2 separate regions of the Homo sapiens genome follow, and region 1 is linked to region 2. Evidence: promoter capture Hi-C in 16 types of primary human blood cells and fetal thymus (Javierre and others, 2016). All regions are on one chromosome and are shown on one strand. Each heading gives the region's core, a stretch centred on a gene start or on the middle of the fragment in contact. The rest is flanking DNA. Distances are from core to core; before and after follow the strand shown. Region 1 has its middle 150 kb from the start of PRELID2. Region 2 holds the start of SH3RF2 (SH3 domain containing ring finger 2).

Evidence for each region. Contacts are between HindIII fragments. The CHiCAGO score rates a contact against its expected background, and 5 or more counts as called.
Region 1: a fragment that was not itself captured here is called in contact with the fragment with the promoter of SH3RF2 in region 2 in 2 of 17 cell types (M0 macrophages and M2 macrophages); the score reaches 8.1 in M0 macrophages.

What each region holds. Positions count from the first base shown.
Region 1 is chr5:145,682,967-145,689,072 of GRCh38, forward strand. It overlaps a transcript of PRELID2 not described here. Among named protein-coding and RNA genes, the nearest start is that of PRELID2, 150 kb to the right of the region's middle. The HindIII fragment of the contact is 793 bases long and covers 2,297-3,089 here.
Region 2 is chr5:145,932,765-145,938,855 of GRCh38, forward strand. SH3RF2 (SH3 domain containing ring finger 2) reads left to right here and starts at 3,814. Exons shown (of 10, transcript NM_152550.4): 1 at 3,814-3,930; 2 at 5,059-5,542. The coding sequence starts at 5,165. It overlaps LOC107986458 (a long non-coding RNA gene), which reads right to left. Exons shown (of 4, transcript XR_001742913.2): 4 at 2,937-2,999. RefSeq lists an enhancer at 3,552-4,129. The HindIII fragment of the contact is 1,154 bases long and covers 3,287-4,440 here.

The DNA of each region.
Region 1 (6,106 bases), core at 1,443-3,942, 250 kb before region 2:
ATAATCACATAATTAATTTATGATTCTAAATTGTAGCTCATGCTCCAAAGGGGAAAAAAGACCAGAGAGCCACAGAGAAAAATACAGAGCATTGTTTATATTGGGTGAAAGCAGTCAGAGAAGACCAGTATTTCTAGGTAGTACAGAACAGTTAAGAACCTAGGTACTGGTGTCAGAAAGATTTAGATTTGAGCCTGAATTTGTCCTTTACTAGCTCTGTGACTTTGACTTTAGGTAAGTCATTTTCTTCTTCAAGCCTGAGTTCTCCCATTTGCAAAATAAGGATAATACCTAGATAGTGACTAAAGATGTAATGATGTGTTCTATACTACCCCTAGAATAGATTCAGCAATCAACAAAACTGTTATTATTGAACATGATAGTCCAAAAAATATCATAACCAGTATACTGGTGTGCTAGGGCTACTGCACCAAATACTACAAACTGGATGGCTTAAATAATAAAACTTTATCTTCTCATAGTTCTGAAGGCTAGAAGTCCAAAACCAAGATGTCAGGATGTTTGGTTTCTTCTGAGGACTCTCTCCTAGACTTTCAGATGGCCACCTTCTCGCTATGTCCTCACATGGCCTCTCCTCTGTGTGCATGCATCCCTAGTATCTCTCTGCATATCTACATTTCCTCTTGTTAAAAGCACACTAGTCACATTGGATTAGGGCCCACCCTAATGCCCTTATTTTGCCTTTATCACTCTTAAAAGGCCTTATCTCCAAATACAGATACTCTCAGATACTGGAGTTTAGGGCTTCAACACATGAATTGTAGGAGAGAGGGAGAACACAGTTCAACCTATAACGACCAGTATGGCATGGAGCTGACCAATCACAAAGGGGGCTGCTTGGTCACTGGCCAGTAGAACGAGCTGCTGATTGTATAGAACAGCAGAGTGCACTGATGCACATTGCTTATTGGTATTATTATTATTACTGAGTTTTAATAGCACTGCCTCTACTCAGGGATATACCAGGTTTGTAAGCAGAGCGACACAAAGTTTTCTAGAGGGGAGATTCCAGGAAGCAAAACAGTCTCCAACAAATGTTAACTTCTACATCCTGCCATGCCTGGAACCGGACAAATACAGAGATGCTTTAGAGCTACCTTGTGAAAAGAGACAAAAGGGGAAGAGCAGGAGGGGGAAGGATAAGAGAGTTAATGGTGACTGAGATTTGAACAAAGACAATGAGGAAGAACATGTATGTAGAGGAGAAAAATGACATGAAAAGAGTCAATAGTCCAGGGGTGAAAGAAGCCTCGATGGGCTGGGCCCTAGCTTTGGTTCTAGTCCAGGCTCAACAAACCAATCTGAACTTTTACGCAATCAGAATAAACTCTTCTTTGTGGACCTCCTTCATGAAATCCTGCTAAAAGAGATTCTTCCTCTTCCTCTCTATCCAAATGGATGCTTTTGTTATCCTGTGTTGTTTCAGACTGTAGGTCGTGGGAGAGAAAGGAAAAAAACCCCACTAAAACCTATCACTCTCTTCTTATTGTTTCCTTGTTCCTCTCTTTGGTTAGCTTTCATTTTGTGCTTGCCCATGTGCAGGCACTGTGCTTCACATTCATGCTTTCATTTAATCCTCATAGTTGTTCTGTTATTATTTCACAGATGAGAAAATATGAGGTTCAGAGATGTTTAGTGACTTGCCAAAGGTCAAACTAAGAGTAAGTGAAGAGCTGGGACTTGAACTTAAATCCATCCCACTTAAAGTCCCTGCTCTTAACCACCATTATCATCCTGTGGCTGTATATTCAGGAAGGAAACACATGGATGAACCAATCCTGGGGGCAGGTAATGACCAGCACCAGCATTTGGAGTACAGATTGTAGTCATGGGTGCTGTTGGCACCACTAAGGCAATAACAGTCATCATGGAGTCTAAGGTCAATGCCAGGATTTGAGGTCACAGCTTTAGGAAAAACTGAAGATGGAAGGAGGCTTCAAAGTCCAGACCAAGGTTGGGGTATAAGACAGATATGAAGAAAGTTGGGCTGTTGGTCTCTGATTTATCTTCCTCCCTCACTGTCCACATCCAATTAATCATCAAGTCTTGTTGCTTCTACTTCCAAAATATTTCTGCCATTCTTCTGCCTGTCCCCATCCTGACTGCCACTATCCCAATACATTGAGAGAATCAGTTAGTCTCTCTGTTTTCAGCTTTGCCCCTAAACCTTTTATTCCACTGCAGTCAGAATTCTTACTCTGAAATATAAATCTAATCCTACCACTTCCCCACTTATGTGGCTTCAGTAGCTTCCCATGGCCTCAAAGGCTTCCAAAGCTTTCAATTACCAAAGCCACCTCTTACCTCCCTGTTTTCACTCTTCCATAAGGCATACTGAACAACTTTCGGTTTCTCTGATGTAATACGCCATGTTCTCTCCAGTCGCTAGGTCTTTGCAAATGTTATTCTTGCTCTCTAGAGCCCAGTTTCTACCCTAATGTTTTCAAGTCTCAGCTTGGACATTGCTTCTTTGCAGAAGCCTTCTCTGGCATAGATAAGAATTTAGAGGACAAACCTAAACCTCATCACATTGAAGTTCCTCCATGACCATTTTTTTCCTACCCTCAACACTCATTACAAAAGCAAGTATAATGCTTCATTGCAGTCCCACATCTGTTTCAGGAGTGCTATAAAACATTGTCTATGAGTGTAGAGAGGGAAGTTCTATATATTAATCAGAGAGAGACAGAGAGACCAGAAAACAATTGCCTGTAGTAAATATTAAGTCAGTACCACTGTAAAAAGCAGGAGTCCCAGTGTATAGAGAAAAGAGGTAGAAAGCCGCTGACCCACAGGAGAAAGTAGCCTTCCTCTGCAGAGGGTCACCTAGAAGAGAAGGTAAACAAACTTCAAGCTCTTCAGCTTCCCTATCCTGGACAGTTTCTGACTCTGAGTTCTGTGAGGAATCTCCTCCAAGATTTTCTGAGGAAGGATCCAAAAAAGCTGCTTGACTTCTCTGTTCACCCTGGTCCCTGATATCGCCATTCTTTGAAAAGCCCTTTGTCATGGGTTTCCCATGTTACATGGGAATGAACAGCATGGCGATGTATAAATTCTTCACCAAATCAAGCTTTTCTCTTCTGCCTTTGTTATTCATCATAGGTAAAAGTGTCTGTTACAGAGGAAATTACACATGTAAACCCACTCACTTTACCTCCCTCCTAAGTCTGTTACATGCCTTCCTGTAGCATCCTGTGCTCAGCCAATAGAATTGCCTCACCCAAACCCTACATACACAAGATTATAAACTCCCTGTAGGTAGGGACCACATCTGAGTTATTCATTTTAAATTCACTGCCTAGCACAGTGCCTGGCTTATAAGGGGGATTTTCAATAACTAAATTCGAATGAATATTTATAATATAAATAAACAGTCTAACAATATGTATGCCTTCTCATTAATAAGATGCATAATAGATGAAATTTCCCCTCACCACCCAGCCCCACCATGCCCTTAGCAACAAGATCTAAACAGGGGAAGGGTCTTTCCCCAGCCCCACCTAAAAACGTCTTCTAATCCCACTTTTGGAACAGCAGAAGAAACATTCAACCAGAAATAAGAAAGCTGTGAAAAGGCAGAGTCCATTTAGGGTTAGTTTGAAGACTATTTGTGTGCGTGTTTTTTTAAAACAACATCTGGACAAATTTTAAAATGTACTTGTGGTCCCATTCATGAAACGGGAAGCAGACCATGGGCTCAGAGCACCAATTACTTGCCCTTTTGTTTCCGCCATTTCTTGGAGAAAATTTAGTGAGCTAACTTGCAGCATGTCAATATAATAAAGTACCCAACATCTGGGTAAATTATAGATTAGCTGCAGTAATTGTTCAGCTTTTAAAAAGAATTTTCCAAATAAAAAATTTTTTCTTTAATTTTAATGCATTTTGTTCAATGTCCTATAGTTTTGAAAAATGCATCATAATAGAACTGAAATGATCTTATGGCATTTTACCCACATTTGATCTAATTTCCCTAATGATTTTTCCAGCTCTTCTATTAAAGCAAGACAAATTGTCATCTAGAGAGATGATGACAAAAAAGTATGAAAATAATTACAGGTTTTTTTTAATTTGTCACTCAGACTTGGAGATGCTAAATGATGACCAAGAAGATCACCAGGTTAACCTGGAAGAAGGTGTTCTCTCTGGTTATTACCATGTCAATACTACTGTTATTTAACAACCTGGCAGTGTTAATGGGACTCTTCTTCTGGGGATGAAACTATGGGGGGTCTTCTGACCTCCAAGTCTCTTGGCAGCTTTTAAGAGAAAAATGCACAAGACATGTGGTCAGGAAAGCCGGGTCCCAGTCTTAGCTCTGCCATTTGCTTCCTGCATGGCCTTAAAAAGCACATCGTCAAAAGACAATCAGACAAACCCAGGTTGAGATTCAATCTACAAGATAACTGGCCTGGACTCTTCAAAAATATCAATGTCATGAAAGTCAAGGAAAGGCCTAGGAACTTATTCTTGAATAAAGACAAATAAAGAAATATGACCACTAAAATGCAACATGTGATCCTGGACTGGATCCTGGATCAGAAAATAAAAGTGCTATAAAGGACATGATTAAATCAACTAACAAAATTGTCATTCTTTTGTTTATCGATGTGTTACCTTTCAGATTGTCTCTTTCCAGTAGAAACTCCATGACAGCATGGACATTTTCTAATGTATTTGCTTATGCATCACTAGCATTTAGGGGATGCTCAATGATTTTTTTAATGACTAAATGAATAAATGAGTAGAATCAGATCTGTCAATCCAATCATTGTCCACAAACTACCAGTATTTCCTAACTTTAAATCAATTAAATATTTAGATGCTTTAAATCAATTACCTCATTTAAATAAATAAAGTCAGTGCTATTAGTCCCATTTTACAGATTAATAAACTAAGAATCTTATCAAGGTTTCTATCTCCCAGTGAAACTAGAGGCAAAGCCAAGATTTAAATCAAGTTCAGACTCCCAAGTCTTTGTTTCTTCATTGCATGGTGCAGCCTCAGAAAAGCACTCACATTCACAATCTTCTCCTCTGATCCAATGCCTCTCATTGGCATCCTGAAATCATATATGCAAGGGCTTGACAAGGTTTCATTTTCTTCTGCCACTTGTCTTTGACACGATGCCTTCAGCTGCTGTGGGTGATGGGAAGGCTTTTAACCTGGTGAATCAGTAGCTGATCCCTGTCCACCTTCATCAGCGGTGTGACACATGGCAGCCTCAGAGACATCTCAGGTCTTTAAGGCATCTTGTTTGTTGCCCTCCAGTCTGACTTTGGCAATTTTCACAACATTAACTTGTCCTTTGGATGAAAGATAAAACCCTCGGTAGTCACTTAGGGCGTGACTTGCATCAGCAGTAATGGTAACTGGAGTTTTGTCCTTACTTCATAAAAGTAAAAAGAAAGCATGGAAATTTTCTAAGGAAGTCCTCGTCAAATATTTATTCAGCTACCTATTGAGTTCTAGGCATTGCTCTCAAGCAGCTTGCAGTCCAGTGACAGAAACAGATAATCAAACAATATATGCCATCAGAAAGCAAGTACAGCATACCACAGGAAAGGGGGAGAAGCCAAAAAAGGTTTGGGACATGACATCTCTGCTGATGCATAAATAATACCTAGAGTTACCCAGTTAAAAGGGTAGAAGATGTCAATGTTCTTAGCAAAAGAAACTGTACATTTAATGGCCTGATCATGACAGAGCATGACACATTGGAAGAACTTAAGGAAGACCCATGTACCTAGAGCGTAAGGTGCAAACTTGCAAACGATGCAACTATAAAATCAGGCAGGAGGCAAAGGTATGGACCTTCTTCTAAAGGCAATGGGAAGCCAATATTAATTTTCTATCAGAATGATCTTCAGGCTTCATTGGAATAATGGCAAGACAATTCAGGTAGACTGAGACTGTTTCAATCAGTCTAGTCAAGAAATAAAAACTGCACCAGTTATTTTAACAAAAATAATTGAATGTAAAGAATTGTTAGCAAGGTATTGGACAATTGGGAGATCCAAAAGGAGATACTGAGATATCATAAGCATAGCAACTACAGGAAGCAGCTACTACTTCAATGGCTGGG
Region 2 (6,091 bases), core at 2,564-5,063:
GAGTTGGGCATTAAATAAATCATTATAAAATAATTACTGAGTTACAGCTGTGATAGCTGTTATAAAGGAGAAGTGTAGGATGACAAACTTTCTACTCATGAAAATCAAAGAAGTCTTCCTGGAGGAACTGACATTTTTTAAAGCTCAAATTTGCAGAGAAGGGCATTAAAAAAGCAAAGCAGGGAGGAAGAGAGTAACTAGGAAGAGAGGAAGGGGAAGAGGGTGTGTTGAAGACAGAAAGAAGAGCATGAACAAATACTTGATGACAAAAACGCTATCCTAAGAGTGAAGAGAAACCCAGTGGGTCAAGAGTGTGCTGAGTGAGGGGGTGATGGGGGTATAAGTTGAAGCAGGAGAGGTGGGCATGAGCCAGATCACGCAGGGCCTGACAGCGCGGAAGAAGGATTTGATGTTATCCTAAGGTTATGGAAACCTACTGAAGAGTTTTGACTAGGGAAACAATAAGACCAGGTTTGCTTGTTTGTGTGTTTTATATACATAAATCTAAATGTACTCATAAATATGCACAGCAGAAGGTCAGACATATCATACAGATTTTTTAAAAGAATGCAGCCAATCATCACCCCATAACTATACAGATAGAAACAGGAGTGTTGGTGGGGTGGGAACAGCGGGAGAAGGGAGGTGGCCTGGAGTCTGAAGAGGTATGCATAGTTCACCTTTTTGTTTGTTTTTAAAGACTACATGTTCATCTGATTTGATGCCAAGGTAGTATTTGGGTAAGCCAGAACAAATCCCCATTTAAAACTCTCGCCCTTCTTTAAAAGTTTCAAGAAATTTTCTCTTCAAGACTAACCTCATGTGGGTGGTGTTGGGGACCACCTACAGGGCGTCGTTTGAGAGGTGCTGAAAGATGACCCCTCGCTTCAGTGTACCTTTTCTCTGTCCTCCATTAGAACCTAAAATTCTACCATCACGATTCTACTTGGCTGGATTTTCAATTGCCAGATTTGCTACAAGAGTAACCCACTGGATCTAGTCTGCCTTCCTGGGACTGAGCTGGTTTGACTGCATTTTCTCAGGGATGGGAAGGTTTGAAGCTTTTAAGACCATTGACCATACAGGGGTGTGGAGGGGCCATGAGATGGGTAGACTACAACCCAGAGGGGCCCAATCTCCTTTTCTGACATCAATATTTTGTCTTGGGTTGGCTCTGAGATCAGCTGGTGTGTACAATATGGGTATATGTGTAACCATGTGCAGATTTAAATAGTAAAGATACATGGGTGTACTTATGATATGTACATGATTTTATAAAATGAAAAGAAACACAGGCCCCGGGATTAGACCAACCTGAGTTCAGATCACAAGGTTTGTAACCCTGGGAAAGTTACAGTATCTTACGGGGTGGTTGGGAGAATTCAATGAGATAATATGTTTAAAATCTTAGCATTGGTCAGTGGCATACAGCAAGTGCTCCATAGGTGTTACTATTATTAAGATTATGTATGTGTGCACCCTTACACAAGTGTATGCATGCATCTGCATATAGGTGCAGATATGAGTATGTAAGGGAGATAGAGTGTGTTTAAGAACAAGAGAAAGAATAATGAAAAATATCGCCAATCTCTGCAACAGGAGTTCCAGCATAGGAGTGGCCCTTTTTACGGAGTGAGACCACTGCAGGGCACAAAGGAAACTGACTCAGCTTTACTAAGTGGGAAACAGAGTAAGAGGACAGTAAACCTCAAGAGCTTCCTTAGTGGCACAGACTCAAGAGTAGAAATTAATAGAAGGAGACAGGCAAGCAGAATGGGATGTGATGTTATCAAAGCTCAAAAGTGACGTTAAAAAAGTAATAGTTGAAAGTGGTCTCTGAAATTGTCCTACATCAAAATTAGGCCTCCGTGCTCAGAAAATAGATAACCATCGGCTCCATCCTAAAGTTCTGGGCCACATGCATGTTTGATGTTTTGGAACTAACATGAAAGAACGTGGAAAAATATGTAAACAATGTTTTCAGACCTCCTGGTCTCCTCTTAAGATTTTCCCATTGAGCTGTGTCTGAACACTCTCTGCATAATAAATAATTGTCATCCTTACGTCTAGAGAGAAGATATAGTAATAACAATAATTTTAAAAAGAACACCCAGTTTCTTTCTCTTTTTTTTTTTTTTTTTTTTTGAGACGGAGTCTTAGTCGCCCAGGCTGGAGTGCAATGGCACAATCTCAGCTCACTGCAGCCTCCACCTCCCAGGTTCAAGTGATTCTTGTGCTTCAGCCTCCCAAGCACTCCCAGCCAACACACCCAGCTAATTTTTGCATTTTTAGTAGAGATCGGGCTTCACCATGTTGGCCAGGCTGGTCTCAAACTCCTGACCTCAAGCAATCCACCCACACCTCAGCCTTCCAAAGTGCTGGGATTACAGGCATGAGTCACCGCGCCTGGCCTCAAACACCTAGTTTCTAGTCCCAATTCTGCCCCTAACTCACTGGACAACTTCAAAGAATCCCTTGATCTTTCTGGGCACAGCTGCCTCATCTGTAAGAGAAAGTGAGTAGCCAGTTTTGTCCATTATCTTTTGACCTCTTGCCCTCTTAGGGGAGGCTTAGCTCCCTTGAACCACCTCTTCACCTCTTTTTTTTTTTTTTTTTTTTTGTCGCCCTGGCTGGAGTGCAGTGGCACGATCTCAGCTCACTCCAGCCTCCGCCTCCCAGGTTCAAGCGATTCTCCTGCCTCAGCCTCCTGAGTAGCTGGGACTTCAGGTGCGCACCACCATGCCCAGCTAATTTTTGTATTTTTAGTAGAAATGAGGTTTCACCATGTTGGTCAGGATGGTCTTGATCTCCTGACCTTGTGATCTGCCCACGTCGGCCTCCCAAAGTGTTGGGATTACAGGCATGAGCCACTGCGCCTGGCCAGCCTCTTAAAGTTATATCACTCCATGACATTGTTAAGAGCACAGCCCACTTGCCTTCTGCTAGCTGTGACTCCCGAGATGAGTTATTTATCCTCTCTGTGTCTCAAGTTCCCTCATCTGCAAGATGAAAGTAAAGAATAGTTTAGTGTCTCCTTGGGTTGTTAAGGGGTTAAAGGGCTAACACAGGTAAGGTATTTAGAACAGTGGTTGACACAGATAAGGACTACCCTGGCATTAAGATTGTTATTATTCACTTAATCGGATACCTTTGTAATTTTACATGAAATGTATTATCGATAAATCAAAAAATAGAAATATAGGCATAATCTGAGGATATGAAAAGACTACAGTGGATAACAGGCAGGAGGAGAGCTTGGAGGCCACTGCTTTTCCTTTTTTGAAAAAGCTTCTCTGTGCTTTGATTTTTCACGTATGTGTATATACGTGACACTAGTTTTTTAATTTAAACAGATTGAGCAAAAAGATCACTAAAGTCCCTCTTATCTCTAAATTCAGAGATTGACTATGATTTTCAAAGAGCAATATTTTCTAGGTGTCCGACTTATCCTTGTTTTCATAGCTTGACCATTTTTACTTTTGACCTTCCCAGGAAATCCTTATGAAGATTTAAAATAAACACAATCACTTTGGTATGTTTATAATGGAGCAGGTTCTGACTCCTTGGATACTACAGAAAACGGGAAAGGTGAAAATATGAACTTTGTAAATACTTGGCCTTAGGGACTGGCTTATATTTTACCTCTTACAATCTTTTCCCAGAAGCAATTCAGTAAACTGAAGGAAAGATCATAAAGTTAACAACTGCAACAACAAAAGCGTGGTAAGTAGGCAGCGCCCTGGCAGTGAAAGCGTTAACAGGGCTGGGTAAGGCGATCCCTTGAAATGAGTAAGACTGAGTGGTTAAAGTTTTCAAAGCGGTTGGCAGCAGCGGCGCTTGGAGGAAAGGAAGCCGGTTGGAGGGCGCAGCGCACCCCTGCTGCGCGGAGGAGGGGGCTGAGCTGAACTCAGCAGAAGTTACATGCACAAGGTTAGTGGCCCCCACACGCCTCCCCAGCCCGCTGCCGCGCTGACATCTTTGGAGAGGAGGCTTAGGAAGGCGAGGCGCCATCGCTCATTCTCGGTCGTGTCTGTCCTGCTTACTAGTCGCTAGTGGGGCCACTGGCCTTCTCGCCAAACCTCTGGGCTCGGTGCTTACCGAAGCCCTGGCACTTGTGAGGGACAGCTGACTTCTTCCAGACTTTTCTAAACTGGAGGCTTCTTTTCATACATCCAAAAGGAAACTTGTTTCTGGAACAAGTACTGTTTTCAGAGTACACACACACACGACCCCTACCTGTATATGCTGCCCCAGTACGGTTTTTACAGGTCGTGACCACAATCCAGAATTCCTATCTGCTTCATTTGAAATTGAGAACAATGTCAAAGTAACTAAACAGGCTGCACTACTTTACCTTGTGGGAGGAACATTGTCTCTGAGCCTAAGGTAATCGGGATGAGGAGAGAAAAAAAAAAAAAGATGAAAAAAGAAAAGAAACAAAGCTTCCAAGCACCCTGACCTGTGGTTAAGGCAAAACAATTTTTGGAAATGGGTTTCTAGTGGAAATTTTTCTTGTACATTGCTAGAATCATGTGGGAAGGTATATTGTGAAGGAAATAATTCTACATCTGCATGAGATTCAGATAAACTTACCCACCTAAACTAATCTGCATGTGGTGCAGATAATAGATACATTTAGATTTAGGGGAAGGAGGAGGAGGAGATAGCTTCACAGAAATTGCGTTCGGAGGGGGCTTTGTTGTAAGAATTGAGACTGTCCAGGAGCTTTCCCCGGGCAGGGGGTAAAGGACCTCTTCCCGCCCTGGCTGGTAGAGAGGGGTTGGGGGGCCACTTCAGCAGGCCAGTTTATCTCCCTGCTTTCCTGTCCACATAGGCAATAAGCAGTCAGTCTTGTGCTGAATGTTCCCTCTGATCCTCACAGCAAGCACGAGTTGAGTCTTATACCTGCTAGCATTGAATCAGAATGAGTCATTTGAAACTTGGGTGCCGGAACAAAGTACTTGCAAACTGCCTTATGAGACACTGCCTCAATGTAGGTGGGATATACCTCTCGGAGCAGTCACATTTTTTTTTCTCTCCTCTCCCTCCTTCAAGCAGGCAAAAATTCTGACGTTCTCAAGAGACCAGCTCTGCCCCCGTGGCTCAACTGACCCTACCATGTGGACGCTGCTCCTCCAGGTGGGAACTGGAGTTTTGAAATAAAATGGATGATTTGACGTTACTTGATCTTCTGGAGTGCCCTGTGTGCTTTGAGAAGCTCGATGTCACAGCCAAAGTCCTCCCTTGCCAGCACACCTTCTGCAAACCATGTCTACAGAGGGTTTTCAAGGCCCACAAAGAGCTGCGGTGCCCCGAATGCAGGACGCCTGTGTTTTCCAACATTGAGGCGCTGCCGGCCAACCTGCTGCTCGTGCGCCTTCTGGATGGAGTGCGCTCAGGGCAGAGCTCCGGGAGAGGGGGCTCCTTCCGCAGGCCTGGCACGATGACCTTGCAGGATGGCAGGAAAAGCAGGACCAACCCCAGACGTCTGCAGGCCAGTCCTTTCCGGCTAGTGCCTAATGTCAGAATCCACATGGATGGGGTAAGAGAGATCTTATTTGCTAATATCATGTCCACATAGAGGTTGGATTTGTGTATACAAGGAGCTAGAGATTATCTTCTTTTAGTTACATTCCAGAGTGCTGCTGTTGATTTCCCAGTGATAAGTTTCTGTGGGCAGTGATCATTTTACTCAAATACAATGAAAACCTGAGCCTATCTAATCCATCTAAGAATTCTCTTTAGAACTATTAAAGCTTCCTAGGTTCTCCTTTCCTCTAGTCCAGAAAGTAGTAGAACAAGGAAAGCCTTTTAGATTATATTTTTGGTGTTTCACTTCTGCTGTTCTGAGGCCAAACTAGTGCCTGGGAAATGCACGGAGGGTGGGGAGAAACAAAAGAGAGAAAACAAATCCAACTGCTTGTTGCTTTTGAGATCTCTCAGAAATTTCCAAATGTCAGGTTTTGTTTGAATTTTACCCAAATCCATCTTCCCACCCCTAGTCATAAAGTGCTATTATGGCAATACTCATTCATAATCTGTTCCAAGCTATCAAGATACTTGACGCGGGAGATAGTGCAGGAGGGAAGCA